2 separate regions of the Homo sapiens genome follow, and region 2 is linked to region 1. The links are contacts of gene promoters, found by promoter capture Hi-C in blood cells and fetal thymus (Javierre and others, 2016). All regions are on one chromosome and are shown on one strand. The core of a region is centred on a gene start or on the middle of the fragment in contact, and the rest is flanking DNA. Distances in the headings are between cores, read along the strand shown. Region 1 holds the start of LINC00970 (long intergenic non-protein coding RNA 970). Region 2 overlaps LOC125312414 (a long non-coding RNA gene).

Region 1 (7,071 bases), core at 786-3,285:
GTTTTGAGTTCTTAAGTTTACTGGAACATACAAGAGAACCTTAGGATCCTATATTTATACATTTAAGAGCTTAAATGTATATGAGTATTAAAGTCCTCCAAAAAGTTTAGTTTGTTAATACAGACAAATGCATATAGGAAAAGAAAGAGATGGCGATTATAACTAATAATCATAGCTTAAACTATTTGAAAGTAATTAACTTTATTCATAGGCCCTTTAGAAGTGATTGCTAAACTCTGCTAGACTAAAAAATAAAATAGTAACAAACCTGTACATGTACCCCTGAACTTAAAAGTTGGGAAAAATATAAAATAAAATAATTACACATATAAGTTGAACCCAAATAAACTATGTTTTTAATCCTAACTTTAATAATCAGAATATTAATTTTTAATTCAGAAGTAAACCTTTAAATGCTGTTTCCAACAAACCTCCAAAAGCCAGTTTCAGTGACATCCAGAAACTCCTATCAAAATAAGCAATTGCCATAGTGTGTGATAAGTGCTGTAATGAGGGAAAGATAAAATACTATATAGGAAGAAGTGGGAGAGATGGAATTTCAGAGTGTCTAAGAGGGACCTTAAGGAGGAGGACTGGGAAGGCCAAGAAAAAGGTGTGAAGATTAAGGGAGGGAGGGAACAGCCAAAAGGAGTTCATTCCTTTACAAATTCTGAGTATGCACCAGGCACAAAACCAGGGGTTGGGGCTCCTTCCTGCTTGGAGCTCAAGGCCAGGAGGTAAGAGGGAGCTTGGCATCTTGAAGGAAGAGAAAGAACTTCAGTCTGAGTGCAGCCCACCCTGAGAGGGTCAGAGGAAGAGCCCACTCACTCCCCCTGGGTGGGTGAGCCTCCAGGCGCTGGTGGATGTAGGTCAACTACTAAGATGGTGCAGAAACCAGAAGGCCCTCCAACAACTGCTCCTCCTCCTTCAGGAAGTTCTTTGCTTAATTTATTTTTGCTTTGGGGGTCAGAAGCCTATTTGTAAAGCATTTAAACTTTGCTGGGACTCAGCTACTCAAACTATCAGCCCTTCAGTCCAGCATCCCTGAAGCCTAAACAGGCAAGAAGCTCATCTTTGGCTTCAGCCTGAGGTCATGGGCTGCAGGAACCGGTGGGATCTGTTTATCAAGACCACTGAAGACCTGCGGGAGGAAGGATCTTATCTCAGTGTTGCCATGGGGACTGCTGGCTGGATTGACTGAATGCTCTGCAGAAAATGACTCTTTTTTAGAAGAGAAAATAGTTGCTATTTTCCAAAGGCTAAATGTGGAGTGAGGTGGCAGTGAGGGGGAAAACAGAAGGCCTGTGAGGGTAAGAAGTGGGGACCAAGGCCAACTCTGGCTAAAGAAGAATGGGGACAGGCTGCTCCAGGACTCAAGAGCTTGAGATTCATGCTAACCCACTCCAAGAGTTCAGGCCTCCACCAGAGGACATGGCTCTATTCATACAAGAATTTTATACAGAAAATAGTAGATCTGAGATTTACAAAACTCATTTTCAATTTCATAGGCTACAGCCTTCAGATAACTCCAAGTCACATCACATGTCTAATAGTTGTCTCAGAAAGAAGTACCCAAAAGGCATTTCCTCCAAAGGTCCTTCAGAAACTGTGAAATGGGCTCTATTTGAAGAAAACCATTTCCATCAATGTGCGCAGAGCCTCAGTATGAGTGTGCAGCACAGCTGAGCCTGTCATCCCTCGGAACACAGTCTGGGATTGCCTGGTGGCTGTCTGGCTATAAGGACTTTGGACATTATCCCCAACTCCCCATGGAAGAATTTTCCCTGTGTTTCCCACCAACAATACTGAGCCAAACTGCTTTTGATGTCCCCGGAGTTATCTGATCACCTAGATGACACTGAACAGAGCAAGATGACTAGGAGACAGCAGCTCAGCCCTGACATCTGCTCAAGGCCAGCAGCAAAAGTTCCAGGAGTTATATGAGCCACTAGGTCCATCCAATCTACCATCTGTCACTGGCTTACCTTGCCACCTTGGGTCACTGACTTCCCCACTCTGTGCCATCTGTGAAATGTGCATAATAGCACACCAAGTCCTTCTGTACCTCCTCCTTCTTCTCCTGTTCTCTCTCCCTCCCTGCTTCCCTCTCTCCCTTCCTCCTCCCTCCCTCTCTCCCTTTCTTTCTCTCTCTCTACCTCTCTTCCTATCCCCCTCTCTCTCCTTCTCTCTTTTTCCTATAGAAGAGAGATGATGTGTTTGTAAAGTGCTTTGAGCTCCTTGGAGATAGAGAGTCTATAAATATAAGCTGTTATCACTGTTACCATGGAAACACACACAGACAACTGTGCTCTGTTTCTGCATTTGCTGAGCATAATTCTGGCCTTCTTGCCCTGCTGGCTGTTAAACAATCAATGGTTTTACAAAGCTCAACAGCCAGGTAATAGGTGGAGCCTCAAGGCTGAACTTATTTGCTATTCAACTCTTCTTCATGTGAATTTTCAAAAACTGTGTTTCTGTTTGCTAAGGTAGAGGATCGTATAAGATTGGCCAGAGCCAGCTGTTAAACCAGGGATGCAAATAATGACAGGCATAGGTATGCCACCCAACCCAGGACCCTGATCTGTAACAAGGGAGAATTCCAATGAGCTGCAAAAATAATATTCTACCCATTTCCTAAATTTACTCCAACTCCTAACTCCTCAACTTTACAACCAGAGCTGGCAAAATGTTGGAATAAAGAGAGTTATGAGTTTGCACCCTTCTGCCAATTTGTGACCATCTGAAAAGCAGGGGCTATATCTTTTTCATTATTGTCTCCACAGGGCCTAGCACAGTGCCTGCACATAGCAGATGCTGCGCAGAGGCCTGTGGAAAAAAAAAATGAATAAGCGAGTTATAAATGGCTGTTGTTTTCTATTACACAGGTAAAAGTGTTGTTGAGTGAGGTATGCCGTCAAATGTTGGCTTGGGCCTCGGGATCTCAGAGGACATCAGTTTTGGCATGGCCAATCTGCTTCCTTCACCCTACCATCATAGTGAGAACAACGATATCACTTCACTTCTAGTTTAATGGGTGGTCCTGGGAAAGTTGCTCTGTATCTGAAAGCCCCATATAGAATGACGTAACCTAGTTGTTAACCAGACAACTGAAAGATCCAGTGCAAAAAGTGAAAGTGTGAAAACCATAGGAAAAGTCCTTTTTCCTCTCAGGCAATGCTGTGATCTCAGGGGTAAGTTTTCCAGGCCTCAGTTAGGAATGCAGTGAAATGGGAATGGGCTTTGGACTCAGACACATCAGAACTCAGTGTGTGAGCTCTGCCACTTACTGACCTTCCTGAGCCTCCCTTCTCCCATTTGTAAAATCAGAATAATAGCACTCTCTCACAGGTTTGAGGTGGCAGTTAAACAAAATTAGTATATAAACCCATAGCTCAGTGGCTGGCACCAGTCAATGATTTATGCATGATCATTCCATTCCATTAGTTTGCCAGTATGTATGAATATCCATTTATTTTGAATACTTCACTTACTAGTTTATTCTAAAGGCCTGGCAGATGTTTCAGGTCCCACTAAGATGAGTGTATGTGATGTCTCTGCCTTTGGAAAGCCGGATTGGAGGATGTGAAAGGGAGAGAGAAAATGCTCAAACACAGACAGGGAGTCGGGACCTGCTACATAATTTGCAGAGTCCAGTGCAAAATGAAAATGCAGGGCACTTGCCAGAAAATTTATTAAGAATTTCAAAAAGGTGACAACTGAGCATTAATCCAAGCAGGGGGTTCCACTAAGCTAAGGACGCCGTGTAACTGCATAGATTGCACACCGATGAAGTCAGCCCTAAAGCCAGGGCAGAGGTAAACTGGTTTCCAGGCTTGGTACAGACGATATACTGATGAAGTAAGTACAGTGAGTGATGCAGTTTCATGGTGTTACCCAAATGCTGTTTTTGTCATCAGGTAGCTCTAATATGATCACAGAGGACAGAGGTATTTTTTCTACAAAATACTTGAATACATGGAATTCATATTCTAAGCTAAACCTAACTGATAGTAAAGGTCATTTCAGGAGGAAAACACTTACAAAAACAAGCAAACTCCTATAGGAGTGGTTATGATTGCATAAAACACATAATAATTGTGTTCAGAGATTCAAATTGTTCCTGTATCATTGTTCATAGACGATATGGGGGAGAGGTCAAATTACAAAGCGTACAAAGCATTTATCTACTTACACAATTGCTATTTATTAAACCCCCTACTGTATACAAGGTATGGTGCCAGGTCATGTGAGGGAAACAGAAAAAGATATCATCAGCCATAATATGATCTCTCACGTTCCTTTCAGGTCTAACAATTTAGGATTCCTTGATGAAGACATAAGGCCTACCTTTAAGAAACGTAAGTTTAGTGCTGTAGCAGAAACTGAAATGGGCCGGGCACAATGGCTCATGCCTGTAATGCCAGCACTTTGGAAGGCCAAGGTGGGCGGATCTCTTGAGGCCAGGAGTTTGAGACCAGCCTGGCCAACATGGCAAAACACCGTCTCTACAAAAAATACAAAAATCGGCATGGTGTGGTGGCAGACACCTGTAATCCCAGCTACTTGGGAGGCTGTGGCACAAGAATTGCTTGAACCCAGGAGGAGGAGGTTGCAGTGAGCTGAAATAGCACCACTGCGCTCCAAAACAAAAAAATTAAAATGAAATTGCTCTGTATGGGGTGTTTATAACTGATTGCATAAATAAGCATACAAATAATTATTATTTATATTATTTTATAATAATATATTAATATAAATATATATTTATATTATTTTTATTATTTTATATAAATAATTTATATAAAAATCCTACAAATCAAAAGGAAATCTAGGCAAAACACCATATAAAAATCTAGATTTCTACTAAGCTCTTCAAACACTGAGAACATTGTTTTTCGTTTTTTTTTTTGTTTTTTTTTTAATCTGATAGTAAAACTAAGTCACAGAATAGACAATGGGTTCTTCTGGAGTCAAACAATAAAGCTGTGGCAAAACAAAGTCCCCTGTTGATAAATTACTGAATGTATTCACAGTGGTTCTCCATCCCCCTCTCCATCCTTGGTTCACTAATAAAGAATGTGCTTTAAATAAGCTATATGCCTCCCCTTTTTTCCAAGGTATAACAATTAATGGCATTAGTAAAAGACTCTACATAAATGTGTTGATGCCAATTTTGGAGCACGGGCTTTAGAAGTCAGACAACCTCGATTAGATTTTGAGTGTACCACTTATTAGGTATTAGTAACTTGGGCAAATTGCATAGTCTTCCATTTTCCCATAAATTGCAATATTAATTCCTCTCCAGTTTTGTTTCATTTTGTTTTGAGGATTAAAAGCATCTAGCTGTGGCTGGCACACAGCGACCATTCACCTGGTAATGTGCTCACTCCCTCCCCCCACCTTCTTACCTTCCTTCTATAAGACCTACTGTAAACAGAATGTCATGGGGCTGTAATGTATTTCACTGAAAATTGTGGAGTACCAAGATACAGCCCATGGAAGAGCAAACTAACCAGAGACAGAGTCAAGAAACCCAGGATGAGTAAGATCAAGACTGAGCTGATTAAGGATAAACGTTGACTTTATTTTCAACTTTGAATGTGCTAAATGCCATCATTGTGGGTTTCTCCTGGTTCCCCTTAGTTTATTATAATCCCTCACTGAATGTACCGTGAGCAATCCTGGCATTTGATCTGATCCAGGCATTTGAACAGCAGAATCAAAACGGTCAACTTAAAAAGAGGAAGGGAGATAAACAAGGCTGGAGAAAGAAGAGACCTAAGAGTTCTACCTGTTTTTGTTTTTGTTTTTCCAGGAAATAGAATTGGCAATTGTAAATGACAGATTGAACCTAAAGGAAGAAGAGAGATGTTATTTCTCTCACAGTCTATTATACTGGAATGCAGACAGAGAGCTGCTGCTGCAACATGGCCAAAGGACCCTGCCTGGGTGCTATTTGCAGGACACCAAAAGCCCCTAATAAACTAAACGGACCTAAAATTCCCCATTACTAGTTTCACATTAAATAAGGCACTGATCCCCAAGGAGTCCCTAGTGCCTGTGCACACAACAGAACACGGAATTTTGAGGGAATGAGCACAGGACATGGGAGTTCTGATGGCAGGGATCTCACTGGCTGAAAATGCAGAAAGAGGTTGAAAGCTGCCAAAGACAAGTTAACGCACTGCATGGCTTTGTCTGGCCTGGGCTTGGGGCTCTCATGGAGGTTACAGAGTGTTCAAGACAGCTCAGAACTGCCGTGTGGGGGAAATTCTCAGCCAGCCTCATCTTATGACCATCCTTGTAGTCAGGACTGCACAATCCTTCTCATTCTGTGCTTGTTCTGAGCCTACCACCCATCAAAATTCTGTTTATTTCAACCTTTACTAAGATAGGAGGGATTTGAGGTACACCGTTCTAATCCCCAGCATTTCGTTACGAAGAACAGGTTCCCATTCAGGCTAATTCTAGAAAAGAGGGTTTTAATGTCGGGATACAGAAATCTCACAGGAATCCAAGGACAGGGCTGCTTGGTACAGAGGGCCCCGTGAGAAGAGGAACTGAGAAGATGTTCAGAACTCTGGCAGAAGCTGCTAGTGGTCTTCCAGTGTTCATTCTTCTTTTCTTCTTAGTAATAGAACCCTGTGTGCTTTATGCGGGCACATGGCTGCCGGTTGCACACTACAGTCCCCAGCCTGCCTTGCAGCAAGGTATGACTATGTGAGTAATGAGGTATAAATGGAAGTGAGATGTACAAATTTGGCATCGTCTTCTTAAAGACAAAGCCACTTGTCCTGGATTTTCTCCTTGCAGTAAGACAGAATGCAGATGCAATGTTGACTCAGGCTCAGTCAAGCAAAGGAGGACACCACCACTGGGGATGCAAGAGTAACAAGACAGGAGAGCAGGCTCTCTGAATACCCACACAGCAGAGTCACCATTCCAGCCTGGATTATTCACCACCAGGCTGTTACAAAAGAAAGAAATAACTGCTATTTTCTTTGATTCCCTGTATTTTTAGGTCTCTATTACAGCAGCTTGGCTTACATCTTGCCTGACACAAGAATTGAG
Region 2 (6,878 bases), core at 989-3,488, 660 kb before region 1:
GGCAATTGGTTTTCAGTGAATTGATTAAGAGCTGGGAAACATTTTCCTAAAGAAAATAGGGTCTTTTCAGCATGATTTCAGGGATATAGATCTCCACAGTCATTTATCAGTGCTGGAGTGGTGTTCGGGATTCTTTGCCTTTATTATCAAAAGCTTCTGTAGCCTGTTATCATTGACCTGATCATTGACCAGGTAGCCAGGAGAGGGAAGGAGGAGCTTTCTAGGCCATGGAACGTCACGTGAAAGGCCTGTGAAGGGAAACATATGAAGAGCTGAAGGATCTGAAAGGTATTCAGCAGGTAAATTAATATGATTTGGTGCTAGATTGGCTTTGGGGAATAGCATGGAAAAGATGATGCCCATGATGGGTTCTGGTTTCTGCTTATCCACCTGGTTGGTATCATTCAGGAAGTTAGGAAACACTAGGAGAAGAGTCTTGTCTTTTTTTATTGTTTCTTTGTCTGGAGGATTGGGAGATGGAAATGAGGATTTGGTTTTGGACCTGATTAATCTGAGATGCTTTTGAGATATCTAACGGAGATGATAAGTAGGCAGCTGGGCTGATGGGCATGGGGCTGGAAGGCATCTGGGTTCGACACAGAAAACTATGGGTCATGTGGGAATTGGTGGTTATGGAAGCTGTGGGTATGGGTGAAAATTTCCAGGGATAGTGTAGAGGGAGAATCATTGAGTTCTAATGATTGACCCTGAGGAATCTTAACAAGTAAAGTACAGGGAGAAGGGGAGGAGCCAGCGAAAGGAAGCCTGAGGGAAGCTAATTTTTCTCAAGTGAAAAGTTTAGGCATTAAAAGTCAACTGGAGGGGCCGGGCACAGTGGCTTATGCCTATAATGCCAGCACTTTGGGAGGCAGAGGCGGGAGGATCGCTTGAGGCCAGGAGTTTGAGACCAGTCTGGGCAACATAGCAAGACCTCATCTCTATTAAAAAAAATTAACTGGAAGAAACCAGTTGTTAGAAGGAGGTTGAATGTACTAGAGAGAGAAAGATTCCACATGAGATGTACATAGAAAGGCAGGAAGGATGGGACCTACAGCCCTGTGTTCCAAAGAGGTTATGGTGACACTGTCACAAAATATTTTGCTGAATATCTGTCAGGACACAGGTATTCTGAGAGTGTCACAGGGTTTTTGATCTCTGAAGGGCTAGTGTGCTTTGGCTTTGGCTTTCACGTTGACTCCTCTGCCTGGGGAAGAGAAGTCTCTATGTACATGCAAGAGCTGTGCATTTTTACAGAGACTCAGGGCTGAGAAGGGTTTCTGTGTGGGAAAGTTTATCTCCAACATTGCCTTCAACCAGGCTGGTCATGCAGTGTCCATAGTGCTCTGTGCCCTGACTTGGCTTCAAAAGGAATGGCCTGGAGAGACCAATACTTGTTTATTCTTTTCTATTTTCCTCTACTGAATTATGCAGCCATACAGGATTCCTATTATAAATTCCATGAATCAGCTCTTCCTAATGAAAGATTTTTGCATTTTGGGGCAATTTTTGTGGAAATATTTTGCAAAATGTGAAGTGACAGCTGCCTCTTGTCAGACACCCTGATTCCAGCTGCACTAGCAATTTGGGTTCCAGAAAGTTCTCAGACAGGAAGGAGTCATGCTATAGACACAAAACAACCCATACATTTAATTCCACTGGAACTGCATTTAGATCCTACGGTCATGCTAGAGAAAGTTTGTAATTCTGGAATGGTTGCTGAGAAAGACTGTTTCCAGATTTTTACGCATCTATTTGTAATTTCTTGGTACCGATGATCAGTTTAATGAATGTCAACTGAGCACTTTGTCCAAGTCCCTGGGTGGGAGACAGATGAACAAGGCATGGTCCACATTACCAGAGTGCTGGGGATAGATGGATTCACAGACACAAAGTCATCATCTCTGCAATACAGAGGAAACAAAATGAAATGAAACAGTAACACAGAAGCAGAGAAGGTGAGGGAGGTGATGGAGTGTGTTTGTGTGTGTGTGTGTGTGTGTGTGTGTGTATTTAAGGGTGACACTGGCAGAGCTAGGACAAAGGCTGGAACTGGAAAATGCTCATAGAGCAGATGACAGTCAAGTTGGATCTTGAAACATGGGTGGGAGTTTGAGAGGCAAAGATGGAGGGTGAAGTGGGGAAGCCAAAGTCAAACACAAGGTCTGTTTGGTTATATTTGCTGAGCAGAGCTGTTACTTTGTACCTCTCTAGTCCACACACCTTTGATGAATTCCCACCACTTGCAAAATAAAGCCTAACCCTACAGCCAGTTTGGAGTAGGGAATGTCTGGCCATGCAGTTGATCTTCATTTTGCAGGTAGTGGAGAGTTATTGAAGGAGTTTGGCCTGGAGAGGTCCGAGGTAACAGCTCTGCTTAGCAAGGTCACCAAGGGGAGAAGCAGAGGAGTGAGTTGCGGGGCAGAGAGGCCTGTTGGGGGGCTGTGGCAAAATCCTAGGTGAGAATCCATGAACAAGAATGAGAATAGGAACAATGGGACTGAAAAAAAAAGATGGCAGCTATGAGGGAAGGACATAGAAAGGAAAGGGTGAAGTCAACAATGAATTGGAATCAACAGACGTATTTACTCAGCAGAGACAGTTAATGTTTCTCCCCTACCCCTAATATTTCCTCTCTTCCTCTTCTTTTGTTATGGAAATACTAGCTAGGTACGTGGTTACTCAGGATAAAGACTACATTTTTTTCCAGCCTCCTTGCAGCAAGGGGTCTCTAGGTATCAAGTTTTGGCTAACAGGATGCAATGGGACAGTTTCTGCATGCTCTCTCTTCCTTCTCCCCCTACCCCCATTTCAATTCTTGGATGTGGCTGGGATGGTTGAAGCCCCTTCCAGTCATTAACAAGGGCTCTGCAGGACTGGTCAACAAAAGAGAAGGAGTCTTTGTCCCTGACACCATGGACCAGCCTGGTAAGCACCCAGACTTTTATGGGAGGAAGTAATAACTACGGTCTTCGTTAAGCTACTGTTATTTTGGGTTTTCAGTCACTCACAGGTAAACCTAATTTGAGCTGATATAAATGGTGACTGATTTTGGCTTCTGCTGACAAACCCAGAGACTAAAGGTAGGAGCCTGGGCCCCAGGAGAGGGGATGTTGGAAGGAACATCCCATTCAGGAGAGCAGGGCAGGTTCTGAGCACAAGGTAGCAGGCTAATGCTAAGAAGAAAGATGATCAGGAAGAACCTCTGCCCATGTGCTGTCTTTCGGCCCTGGTAGAGTTTGTCACATGCTAGAGTCCTTAGTTAGCAATGTCTTAGGAAGTGAAGGGGGATGCCAGTGTCCAGGCTTGGCTTTACAGAGAACAGGATGAGCAGCTTGGGCAGCCAGGAGAAGCTGTTATGAGTTGGCCAGGGATAAAGGACAGAGAGGGGGTATCTGGAAGAGGCATAAGAGACATCTTGGACAACATAAGCACTTCTGGGCATCCTTAGATGTATTTGGGAGGGTACTGATAATTTTGTCTTGCATAATGGGGGAGCTCAGATGGTCATCTTCCAAATATCAAAGGGGACAATTTGCATTTGGCCTTAGGTTAGAGGTTGGCCTAGGTGACCTCTAAAGCTATTTTCAAGTCTAAGAATCTATGATTCCATAAAACAATCAAATCACTAGCTTGATTTCCTAGTAGACATCATTCTTGTTTCCCCTCAACTGACTCTAGGCCAGAATCTTTTCTGCCAAGAGTAATGTGTTCAGATGGTGTGCATGTACTGGCCGGTGGGGCTAGGATAGTAACATTGTGATTGGGTTTTCAGTCCACTAAGGTCCTGCTAGTGCTGACCCTGAAATGGGACCAGACTTGAGAATCACCTGGGAGGAGGGCCAGGATGCGGATGGAAATGGAAGTCCTGGAAAGGAACACTGGGGTGAGTGCCAGGCCATACGATACTTATTTTTAGAAGGTGTAATGATCAAAAACAAATTTTTGAGCAGGAAGCATTCCAGGACTGGATCTGGGGGCTGGGATCCCAGGAGAAGGGAAGCCAAAGGGACAGGTAAGGTCCAATCTGATGTGGCTGGTGGCAGAGAGGGTGGCTTCACTTGGGGAAGCCTCTGTCTGTTTATTTTTTAATGTGCAGAAATGCTGAATGAGAGAGATATGATTTAAACTAGGGAATTGGAACTAGCTGCAGAAACTCCATTTACATGTCAACCAGTACCAGGGGGCACTGTGGAATGTGCAATGATGTGCCTTTTGCTTAATCTGTGCATATATTGTATCCTGAGACTTTCTGACACTGTAGAATATGCTTTCTTATGGAGAACTGGGTAGGCAGCTGGGGAGGAAGTTCCTGATTCCGGAAGCAAAGCTTCTGAAAGAGAAATGCCTGCTGCCCTGGGTGGCAGCTCTGGAAAGTTAGCCAAGTGGTGGCAAAACCAGGAGGGAGATTTCATCATGAGGACCAGATCTGGGTATATTTTATCTCCAAATTAATTAATTTATTCTTTTGTCATCTTATACCATCTATATATTTATATCATTCATGTACATCTTATATTTATTTTATTTACCATCACATAGCACTAAATCCTATATACTGCTTGGCACAAAATTGAGTCTGTCTATCTACCTATCTATCTATCATCTATCTGTTTTTGGAGGGAGCTTAGTTGATCACTTTTTTTATTTTTTTGGGATGGAATCTCATTATGTCGCCAGGCTGGAGTGCAGTGGTGCGATCTTGGCTCACTGCAAGCTCTGTCTCCCGGGTTCACGCCATTCTCCTGCCTCAGCCATCCGAGTAGCTGGGATTACAGGCACGCGCCACCATGCCCAGCTAATTTTTGTATTTTTAGTAGAGACAGGGTTTCATCATGTTGGCCAGGATGGTCTCGATCTCCTGACCTTGTGATCTGCCTGCCTTGGCCTCCCAAAGTGCTGGGATTACAGGCGTGAGCCACCGCGCCCGGCCTAGTTGATCACCTTTTAAAGATCGTGAGAGGCATTTTATATTCTGCTCCAGGTTGGCTTAGATGATCTGTAAGGACATCTATCAATTGATCACTGCTCCCCCTCATCATCTATGTCTAAAGTGTTTTTAGAAATAATCCCTTCAGCAAATGCTTATTCTGTCGCCTCCTCAGTATATTAACCCTTTGGGACAACTTGCCCAGAAAAACATTTCCAGACATATCTTACTCAGTAAACAGAGGGTTATGTTCTACGGATAGAACACTGTGAGCCCAGGCAGCTCTGCAATTGCAAAGAAAAAAGCCCTAGTCCAGAATTATTTTTAGAATGCAAGAGAGGCCAAATACATTGCTGTACTATATCAGAAAAAGGAAAAGTGGAGAGGGAGGGACACTATGGAAAAGGCAATGAGCATAAGAATGAATTTCAGGGAACCAAATCAGCATACAAATGGTGAGAGGCAGCCCCACTGGAATCCTTCATCCTGACAGGTCCCAAGGCACAAGCTGGGCACCTTCTTGAGGAATGAATCATTTCAGCCTGCAGTGGGGGGAGCTGGACAGCCAAGATCTGCCAGAGACAGATGCTTCTCTGCAAGTGAAGAGTGAGGGCACTGCAGCCAAGTGTCCCCGGAGCACAGTGTGGCTTTGCAGAGGGGAGAAAAGGGCAGGAAGCAGCACTGAAGGACCCTTTCCCTGGGAACAGGCACTTCCACCCATCTGCTCCCCGAGGTCTCTGAACATCCCTCAGGGGCTCAGTGGACTGGTGTGAACTCAACTCTCTGTATTTTCTTGTGGTAGCCTTGAGGTCTCATGCCTTTTGAACTCGTGGGAGGCAGTATGAAGTTGGAAAAGCATTTTTTTTTTTTTAAATGAGATCAACTCAGTTTGAATGCTGGCTCAGCCTCTTAGATGTAAGATCTTGGACTAGCTACTTAACCCGTGTAGGCCTCAATTTCCTTGTCTGGAATGTTGGGATATCTCCTAAGACAGTTACAGAGACTAATTAGTAATAAACAACAATACTTTTAGTGTTTTTGATCTATAGAGGATTCTCAGTAAATGTTAATCCTCTTCCCCTGGGACCATGTTTTAGACCTGGCACCTGTGGAATTTGTATGATTTTGTAATTAATGGCTACCCCACCTAAGATGGCACCAGCAATATGCCTAATGTCACTGGACCCAGGTGAAAACTGACCAGCTGAGAATGCTTCACAGCCTTCACCAGAGAGGGGACAGAGCCACCCGCTTAGGAATCCCTGACCAGACAACACCAGCTGTTTAGAAAATGCCCACCCTGTACCCTGCTCTGTGCTAGGGACAGTGAAATAAGTATACATAGCTATTTAGAAGAAGACTTCTGCCCTGAAGGCTTTATAATCTGGATGGGAGAGGAACTCTGACACTTGATAGATTAGAAGCTCTGAAACTTAGAAACAGACGTACAACCCCAGACATGGTCTACATTGCAGAGTACCTGAGGGACTATGACGTTCTGGCCAAGAAATTCTCTTTTAATGCAGCAAAAGATGGCAGTGTCCCTAGGGCTGAAGCATCTCATGCTGAATTAAACAGATTGAGAAGGACTGATAAAAACAAATAAGAGCTAGTATTTCTTTAAGGGGTTTTTTGTTTTTTTTTTGTGTGTGTGTGTGCCAGGCCTTGTACTAGTCACTGTACTCGTTCATCTTTATTGCAGCCTGACAAGGATAAGTAATATTAACCACAGTTTAGAGGTGCAGGGCTGGATGCTCTGGGAGGCAACCCAGCGTCACAAGGGAAGGGCCAAGATTCAAACCTAGATCTTTCTGACCCTAAAACTCGATGTTCCTTTGACTATGATGTGCTGCCTCTCACAGAATTAGGCAGCACATCCCTAAGAACTGCTGAGTAGGTAGCATTTCCCCTAAGAACTCTCAGACATTCGTTTGGAGTGAGGACACCCAAC

Evidence for each region. Contacts are between HindIII fragments. The CHiCAGO score rates a contact against its expected background, and 5 or more counts as called.
Region 2: a fragment that was not itself captured here is called in contact with the fragment with the promoter of LINC00970 in region 1 in 1 of 17 cell types (naive CD8 T cells); the score reaches 5.9 in naive CD8 T cells.

What each region holds. Positions count from the first base shown.
Region 1 is chr1:169,084,970-169,092,040 of GRCh38, forward strand. LINC00970 (long intergenic non-protein coding RNA 970) reads right to left here and starts at 2,036. Exons shown (of 5, transcript NR_104091.1): 1 at 1,986-2,036. The HindIII fragment of the contact is 14,978 bases long and covers 1-7,071 here.
Region 2 is chr1:168,422,923-168,429,800 of GRCh38, forward strand. All of the region lies in intron 4 of LOC125312414 (a long non-coding RNA gene), which reads right to left. Among named protein-coding and RNA genes, the nearest start is that of MIR557, 51 kb to the left of the region's middle. RefSeq lists an enhancer at 5,081-5,622. The HindIII fragment of the contact is 4,174 bases long and covers 152-4,325 here.